Linked DNA regions of Homo sapiens: region 2 is linked to region 1. Evidence: promoter capture Hi-C in 16 types of primary human blood cells and fetal thymus (Javierre and others, 2016). All regions are on one chromosome and are shown on one strand. The core of a region is centred on a gene start or on the middle of the fragment in contact, and the rest is flanking DNA. Distances in the headings are between cores, read along the strand shown. Region 1 holds the start of EDN1 (endothelin 1). Region 2 holds the start of HIVEP1 (HIVEP zinc finger 1).

Evidence for each region. Contacts are between HindIII fragments. The CHiCAGO score rates a contact against its expected background, and 5 or more counts as called.
Region 2: a contact is called between a fragment that was not itself captured here and the fragment with the promoter of EDN1 in region 1, in 4 of 17 cell types (endothelial precursors, M2 macrophages, M0 macrophages and 1 more). The highest score is 8.4, in endothelial precursors.

Annotation. Positions count from the first base shown.
Region 1 is chr6:12,288,218-12,292,453 of GRCh38, reverse strand. It overlaps EDN1 (endothelin 1), which reads right to left and starts at 2,093. Exons shown (of 5, transcript NM_001955.5): 1 at 1,761-2,093; 2 at 1-113. The coding sequence starts at 1,824. RefSeq lists enhancers at 2,161-2,230, 2,241-2,340, 3,484-3,984, 3,985-4,236. The HindIII fragment of the contact is 4,555 bases long and covers 492-4,236 here.
Region 2 is chr6:12,011,984-12,016,219 of GRCh38, reverse strand. HIVEP1 (HIVEP zinc finger 1) reads right to left here and starts at 3,908. Exons shown (of 9, transcript NM_002114.4): 1 at 3,654-3,908; 2 at 552-694. The coding sequence starts at 591. RefSeq lists silencers at 3,754-3,893, 4,074-4,236. The HindIII fragment of the contact is 885 bases long and covers 1,703-2,587 here.

The DNA of each region.
Region 1 (4,236 bases), core at 844-3,343:
CATCAGGGACGAGCAGGAGCAGCGCTTGGACCGGCGGAGCCGCCAGGGTGGACTGGGAGTGGGTTTCTCCCCGCCGTTCTCACCCACCGCGCTGAGCTCAGCGCCTAAGACTGCTGGGGAGAGAAAGAGCAGGTCAGTGGGGGATGTCTCCTCAAACGCCGAGAGACATGCTGGATCACAGTAGAGTCAGAGCTAGCAGAGCAGATAAAAGCAGATGAAGCACACAGCCTGCCATCAGCAAGAAACACAGAAAAAAGGGCTCTTTATTTTTTTCCCTCCTTAACATGAGTTCACCTTTTGCCTCCCCCTCATGCCCTTGGCTTATCCACCTTCAGGGAGATTACACAAATGCAGAGGAGATAAACACCTGAAAAGGGACTTCCCCCACCCCTCTTGAAGCAGGCTCAGGGAAATGCTGTGGAATGCTGCCTGTTGAAAATCCGGCTGGCTTCTACAAGGAACTTGGTAGGACAGCACTATCCACTGAAGCTTACTTAACATTGGCACATGACTAAAGACAAGAAATCACAGTTATTCCTAGCTTTGGGGCCACTTCCCCATTCAGGATGACCCTCTCTTTAGGGGGTACCCATCCACTTCACATGCTGTGTAGGGCACAGGGTACCCCAGATGATGTATATCTTTCAAAATTAGGTGGGGAAAATGATTGGAGAGAGAAATTAACTATTCAATATTCAATTCAGGAGGGTAACTCCATAGAAACCAGTGACCTAAGGTGGGGCTGAGAAGCAGGTCAGGGGACTGAAGGTAGGCTGGGGGGATTTTGAATTCCGAATCCCTGGGCATCAGGCTTGTGTGGGATCCACTGCCTCCCCCTTCTCCACTACTGCCTTGCCTCTTCCTCCTAACAATTTAGCCATGCAGCTTATCTGCCCAATTTTGTACATTTCAAATGATCAGACACATTCCAGGATTTTCATTCCCTTGACATCCTTTCTCTTTAGTCAGGGTCACGAAAAGACAAAAAAAGTGCACTGACCCTAAAAACGGGGGGGACCCGGGCAGATGCACACGCACTGCCTAAATCCTTCGGCAGCCAAGAATTATCCTAGCTCCCCTCCCAGCACAGGTGAATAAAGCTGAAAAGAGAGCTCACACTGTTTTGGGTGCCAAAAACCTGCCAAAAGAAACCTAAAGTCAATGATGACAAATTTTAAAGAAAACATCTGCTTCACCCAGAAACCGCCTGCGGGGGGTGGTGGCGGGGGGGGGGGGAGGCGGTAGTTAGTCAACAGACTTTTGCTCTGCAGGTGATTTTACTGAACATACATTGCTTGAACGACTGGATACAATTCCTTGGCTTCAAGCTGGAATGCTTAAATATTTTACACGTTAACACACTATTAAAATAGTGTTTAAATAAGATTTAAGTTCCTATATGGCCTGTGTACCTGTATAAACACATATATTACAAACATACATTTGACTAAATTGTATATGTCCATACTCTTCTCATTTTTTAAAAGCCAAGGAAACACATAATGGAATAATAATAATAAAACGATAAGTTATTTTAATGTCATGTTATAGTCAATTGCACCTAATTGTATTCAATAGAGGAATTTTACATTTTACACTAGAAGACTTAAAGTAGCTTTCAGCAATAATTCTCAGACACTTGCTCTCTAAGCTGCAGTCATAAAAAGAACGGGGAAAAATAGAAGCAAGAAAAGCATGAAGGTGGATAAGAACACACTAACTTGTAATTCCGAGACTTACAAGTCAACGAGCGTGCCTACCTGTTTCTGGAGCTCCTTGGCAAGCCACAAACAGCAGAGAGAAAATCATGAGCAAATAATCCATTCTGAAAAAAAGGGATCAAAAACCTCCCGTTCAAACTGAACCCAAAGGAAAACGAAGAAAAACAGCTTCAGGTCCCTCAAAGCGCTGCGGGTTCCTCAGATCTCAAAGCGATCCTTCAGCCCAAGTGCCCTTTTAACGGGGAGAAAAGGCAGCGCCTGCCAGGAGAGAAGGCAGCGAGCGGAGCGTCTGCAGGCGCACGCGGCGGTGGAGAGCTGGGACTGCAGGAGGCGCAGGACCCGTTCGCCTGGCGCAGATGCAGAGGCGCGTCTGACTTGGACAGCTCTCTGCCGGCTTTTTATATTGAACCCCTATTAGAGTGGGGGTAAACAGCTCCGACTTTATTCCAGCCCCAGACAATGTTATTGTGTTATTAGTCACCAACAGGCAACGTGCAGCCGGAGATAAGGCCAGGCCCGAAAGGAAATCACTGCTAACTTCAGAGGCAGACGCCCGCCGTCTGACAATTCGGGGGCAGGGCTAAGAAAAAGAAAATACCCATTAGAGACCTTTGCTAAACCTGCCCGTGCAGTGCTGGAGTCCGCTTCCCCTTTGCAAGCTGCCAGCCCCGGAGTTCAAGAATCAGAAGAGGGGACTCCAGAAAAAAAGTCATACCATTGGTATGAAAAGTATGAGCCACAGTTTAAATAGATTGTATTGTTGTGTGCGGGGAATTTTTTTTAATTGTTGCTCGCTTCATTTTCCTTTTATGTCTCTCCGATTCTAGTCTCAGTCAAACAAGGGAATGCTCTCCCTCGTCACTGCCCCACTACTGGGGGTCAGACTATTTTGGCAGATCAACGTACTTTTCTCTTCAAGCCCCTTCCTGCGGGTCTTTTTTGCTGAAGTTCTTTGCATCTATCGGAGAAAGATCCGTGAGGGATTGGCAAGAAAGGGAGCTTAAAAATAACATCAGAGCTCGTTTAGGCACATGCCCAGTCTTTTCCCTATCACTGATGAGAAGCCCCGATAAGTTCTTTTGTGTGTCCACACTTCCCCTGCGGAGGAGGCTGATAAACTGATTGAAAAGCAAAGGTGTTTTTCACACAGAACTTAAATCTTAAGATTGGTCGGTGCCACCAATCTTAAGACATGGCGGGAGAAGAACACCAGGGGGAGATGAAGAGCTACAGGGGCTGATGTTTTACTAGGACAAAAAGGAAAACCCTTCTAAATGGCAGAAAAAAACGCAACCTGGCTTGGGGGCCGAGGAGGGTCAAGGAATGTTGCCTAACATAGGAAGGAGGAATGCACCTCAGAATATTCTATTTATTCCCCGCACAAGCAGGGACATATTTTCTGGGACTCTTTTTTTTGGGGGGGTGTCTTCATTTAGGGCAAAAAGGTGTTCTTGTACAAGGTTAAGTGAATATGCAAGGAAGGTGGTGCTGAGAAGGAAATGCCATTCGAACAAGGAATCAGATAATACTTCACATTTAATAATGTGTTTACATTTTCAAAACAATTTCCTGTCTATCTAACCTTGAAATCCCCCCCTGAAGTACACACAGGGCAGTTACTGTACAGGTGACATCATGCCTTAATAAAGAAAGCAAAAGGTGCATGGAACACATTGGCTTTTTCCGCTAGTCCCATTTTTCAGGTTAGACAACTGAGCACCCAGAATTTTTGTTTGTTCTCCACCAAAGCGCTCACAGTGGCCCAGTAAGACCTATGGGATAAATTTAGAGTCTCTTCCCAGGGGATGCCATCAAATACACACTTTGTCCATCTCCTCTTTTTGTTTTACTCCAGTTTTTCTGGGGATGGAGGGTGGAATTCAAGCACGGATGAATTTCCAAGACTGGCACAACACACATGCTGGGAAACCTTTTTTCCCTCCTCCTTCTAAAATCAAAAGGACAGTTTTTATCCCAACAGCAAAGCCGTGGGTTTGGACAGACTCAGATCCCCAGACCTCCCTCGAAGTCACAGCTGGGGGAACAGGGACAGTGGCAGCGACAGGTCCATAATGACATGCATCCTCTAAAAGAGCCACTGAAGCAAGAGTTGGAGATGGGAGAGAGAGAGGCAAGAACTCTCCCTCCCACACCCACACCCACACCCACACCCAGAGATGCCTCCACCCTATCCCCAGGGCCTCTGCCGGGGCCCCTGGCCTCCGCTGTGCGCTTACCTCAGCCTAGCCCCGGGGCCCAGGGAGGCCACAGCTCCCGGAGGACAGGCGGCACTGAGCCGGAAGCCAGCGCTGCCGCCTGTGCCAGGCAAGGGTGCCCTGACCTCCCTCTCCAAAGCCGACCTTGGGAGAGGAGAGGAGAGCTGATGTCACATTCACAGGTTCCAAGCAGCGCCTCCCCCCCAACACTCCCGCGGAAGAAAGGTGGCCTGGGAAATATGTCTTGGCAGGGACTCCCCCTACTTTTTTTTTTTTAACCTTTTGGCAACTTTGACCAA
Region 2 (4,236 bases), core at 896-3,395, 280 kb after region 1:
ATGAAATGTGTATCATATATATATTTGTGACCCACTGCTTCTTCGTGGAAAATAACTCAGTTTGCCTCTGACTTCTGCAAGTAATGGTCTGAGTGAATGCCTACAATTCTCTTCACTTCTTATCTTGTTAATCTAACTGATGGAGTGGTACAAAAATAAACCTCAAAAGAACTATGGAGGAAGAGTGAAAAAAAAACATAAAATTCTTAATGATCCAGTTGGCAAAGAATATTTAACCATTACTTTCAGATTCCTTGACCCAAATATGGTTCCTATTAACAAATAGCAACTTTCAGCCTTTAATACCCCATCTAATGGTTTGGAAGGAATGCACTGTAATTTCGTCAAATTCAATTCATTCATTCAACAGATATTTATTAAGTATCTCCTGAGAGACAGGAATTGTGCAGGACTGCTGGAAATGAGCAAGAGAAATAGCGCTCCTCACCAGGCAGGGTCAACATCTAACAAACGGCCATTCCTGTCACCAAAGAGATACTTTGTTAAAAGATTTACAGCAAGCCTTACTTCTACTTAATGCAATGCTTTACCTCTTAGATTTCTGGGATGAATTTGTTTAGTTCGAGGCATCTTCTTTGACTCAGGGCCTTCTTTTTCTTCTTAAAAACTGCAGATAAAGCAAGCCACCAAAAGGCAGCTCCATAAACTCAACATACATCAATTAATCCATGTGCTGAAAAAGAAAAAAACGGAGAAGCACATTTTACTACCTTCAGAGGAGAAAGATACTTTAAAAGTTACTGCCTAGCAGAGCACTAACCTAAACTCAAGAAAAAGTAACCAAGCTGGGCACCACTGCAAAAGATTACTAACTTTTAATTAAACAGAGGTCATTTTGTCAGTATCGGGACTTCTCATTAAGAAAACAGAAAAAAAACACCGTATCTTTATCAGACAAGAGTAAAAAAACTCACTTTGTGTTTTAAAACAACAATACCAGGAACAAGTAAAGTATCGCATCAGGCTACAAAAGGATTATGTTAGGCATGTATAGTAAATCTGCCCATTCATAGGGGCAGGGACAATGTCTTGTTCATCTTGTTTTAGAGTTAACTCAGTTAATACAAGGGGTTGCTACTGTGGCTACTCCAGTTATTCCAGACCTCTAGGTTCATGGTAGGACCACACTTTCTGCTTCCCTGTGTTTCCCAGGAACGTGTGAGGAGCTGTAGCTAACGACCTGTGAGCGGATGAGACTTCACTTCCAGGCTGGAGCATTTAGTTATTACCACAGCATGATCCTCCAGAGCTCTTCTCTCTCTGCCATGGGATCAGCACTGCTCCAGACAGCAAATCTGACACCACCACAAAGTCAGCTCTGGCTAACCCACGTGATCACACAGCATACGCCAGAAACACCTTTTTGTTTGCTTAAATAAGTGAGGTTTGAGAGTTATTTGTTACTGCAGCACAACCTAGCCTGTCCTGACTTACAGATTTTAAAACACAGTGATCTGAAATATAATAGGCCAAGATAAGAATGACCCAAAACCGAATCACCTATCTCCCCAAATCAGCCACCTCAGGCTCTTCCACAAGATTCTCAAGGATCTTAAAGCTGAAATTTTAACTTACTGCAAGAAAACTGAGAAGCAAAGCCCACTGTCACTGTTAAACATGAAACAATGTTTAGTCATTAAGCAAAGACACAAGAATAGAACAGTAAGGAAGGCTTAAAGCTTTTGTTATTAGTGGTACTGTAGAAGACAAGAGAACACTTATGAGCACCTACTATGTGCCTGTGTACTTTCTACACATTCCCTAATTTAATCTGTTAACTAAGAAGGTAGCTATCATTTATTCATTTTACAGATTAAAAAAAAATTGGATAAGTAACTTGTCCAAGATAAACAACTAAAGAATGTGGTACTGCATGACTCAGTTATATCCAGTGCTTATTTTGTGGAGCTGATAACATCTACTTTCAGGATTTCTTTCAAGAGGCGCAGCAAGTCATGACGACTTATCTTGGTGTCAAACCGGAGTGGGTTCAAAGCCAGGCTTTACCCCTTACTGTGTGGCCTTGTTCAGGTTACTTAACCTCTCTGAAGATCAGATTTCCCAACTGTAAAATTAGGAAATATTATCCACATCAGAAGGTTGTTATAAGGACTAAACTAAACATTGTAGACGCTTTGCCTGTCACACAAAAACGCTGAACTATTAATTCTCCTTAAGAAAGCCTATATGGGAAGGAATGTGTCTAACATCCCAGTATAAGGTTTTAGAAATTTATGGTTTCATTACAGCAAAGAAACAGAAGGTAAAGAAGGCCACGATTAACTTCAGTATTTTATCCCTGATCTGGCTGTATGTCAGCTCAGCACAAAATTATTTGCAATTTTTAACTACATGGTAAAATAATACAAAAAAAAATGATGGTCTAAGTATTTCATCTAGCATTGTGCTAAGTGATCTATAAAAGATAGGGTTTCTCAGCTCCTTGCTCTAAAGAAACATCCACTATCTAATTCAGGAAGGTTCTGATTCAATAAAGAATTGAGACACAGCTGAACCAAATAAATTGCATGAATGCTTAACTACGTTCGTTGTTAAACTTAAAGCTTTTAAATGGTAACGATATTTGGAAGTTTTTAAAGCGTGAACTCTGACTGTAATCCAATCATGTGATCCCATGGGATCCGGAGCATAAATGTAAAATATGCACATTCCCTGTCCGTAAAGGCTTTCTGCTACCCCGTTCATTGCCTACCCACTGTCCCTAGCTGTCCATCCCATATTTAAATCCTTGTGGGGGGAAGTGGGTATTTCCAAAGACAGCAGCATTGTAGCGACTAGGACGAGTGATAAACCGTTCCTTTACGGGAAAGAAATAAATACTACATGGAGCAAAAACATGACACGATCAAAAAGCGTAAAGACAGTTGCAAGGAGAAAAAACATGAATGAATGTGGAGGGCGGAGCCTGGGAAAACCCCTCTGCAACGCTGCACTGAACAAAGCGCTTCGCATGCCAGGAGGAGGGGGGGAATGGAAGTGCCAGCTCAGGAAGGAGCCTGGAGTGGATGCAGAGAGCTGAGGAGGAGGAGGACGAGATGAGGCGAGCGCGGCAGCCCTGAGACTCCTCCTCGCCGCCTGCTCCGCCGCCGCCCCCTCCCCTCTCCAGCCAGCAACTCCTTCCCGAGCCCGACCCCAAGGCGAGCCCGAGCCGACCCGCACCCCAACCCACCGCCCCCTTCCCAACTGCAGCTGGCGCGCACTCCCAACCCGGAAAGAAACTACCCAGGTGGCCGGGAGTAAACAGGCACTTAGAGCAAAGAACGAAAGGGAAAGAAACCCACAAAGCCGGGAGGTTGGGATGCCGAGGCCTGGTCTCTTTCACCCCCCACCCTCTTGCAAAATGCGTCTGCGGCTGGAAGGCGGCTGGGGAGGCTGGGTCCCTCTGTACCTGCTCGGCTCGCGCGCGGCGAGGGCGCCCAGAAGTGCCAAGGGTCTCCCGCACGCAGCCATCCCCTCTGCAAGGTCGGCGGTTGCACACACACGCACACACACACACACACGCGCGCCCGCACGCCCCCCGCCCGCCGAAGGGATGTGCTCCTGCCCCCCCCCCCCTCCGCCCCGCCGCCCTCCCCAGCTGCAGCGCCCCCGCCGCGGAGCCCGCGCCGAACCTGCTGCCAGGACGCCCGGCGGAGCCGCTGCCGCTGCAGCCGGCCCTGGAGCTGCGCTGCTGATGGCGGCGGCCGCGGCTCGGGATCTCCGCGACCCCCGCGCGGCGGCGGCGGCGGCGCCTGGGATCCCTCCTTCACTTGACAACCCCAAACACAAACATAACCTCCTCCGGCGGCCGCCGCTCCCCGGTCCCCCGCTCCGTCCGCCACCCTGCCGCCGCCCAGCAGCCGCCACGCTGAAGGCCGGCGACTGGCGCTCACACCACCCAGCACTGAAATATTAAACAGGGGAGCGGGCCGGGGGGCGGGGGGGGGAGCGCGGGGCGCGCGGGCGGGGGCCGCAGCCGCCGGGCGGAGGAGGCGGCGAAGCTCGCCGGCGCCCGGAGCCACGGCATGATCGCGGCCGCCAGGGAGCCGGGCAGCCGGGCTGGGGGGCGCGCGCCGCGGCGGGGCGGGCGGACAGACCCTGGGGCCGCGGGGCCCGGGGCGGGAAGGACGGGCGCGGGCTTTACCTCTCCCCCGGGGCAGAGTAGGGCACGTTTAGCGTCTTTGGGGCCGGCGGGAGGAACGCGGGCCGGGCGGC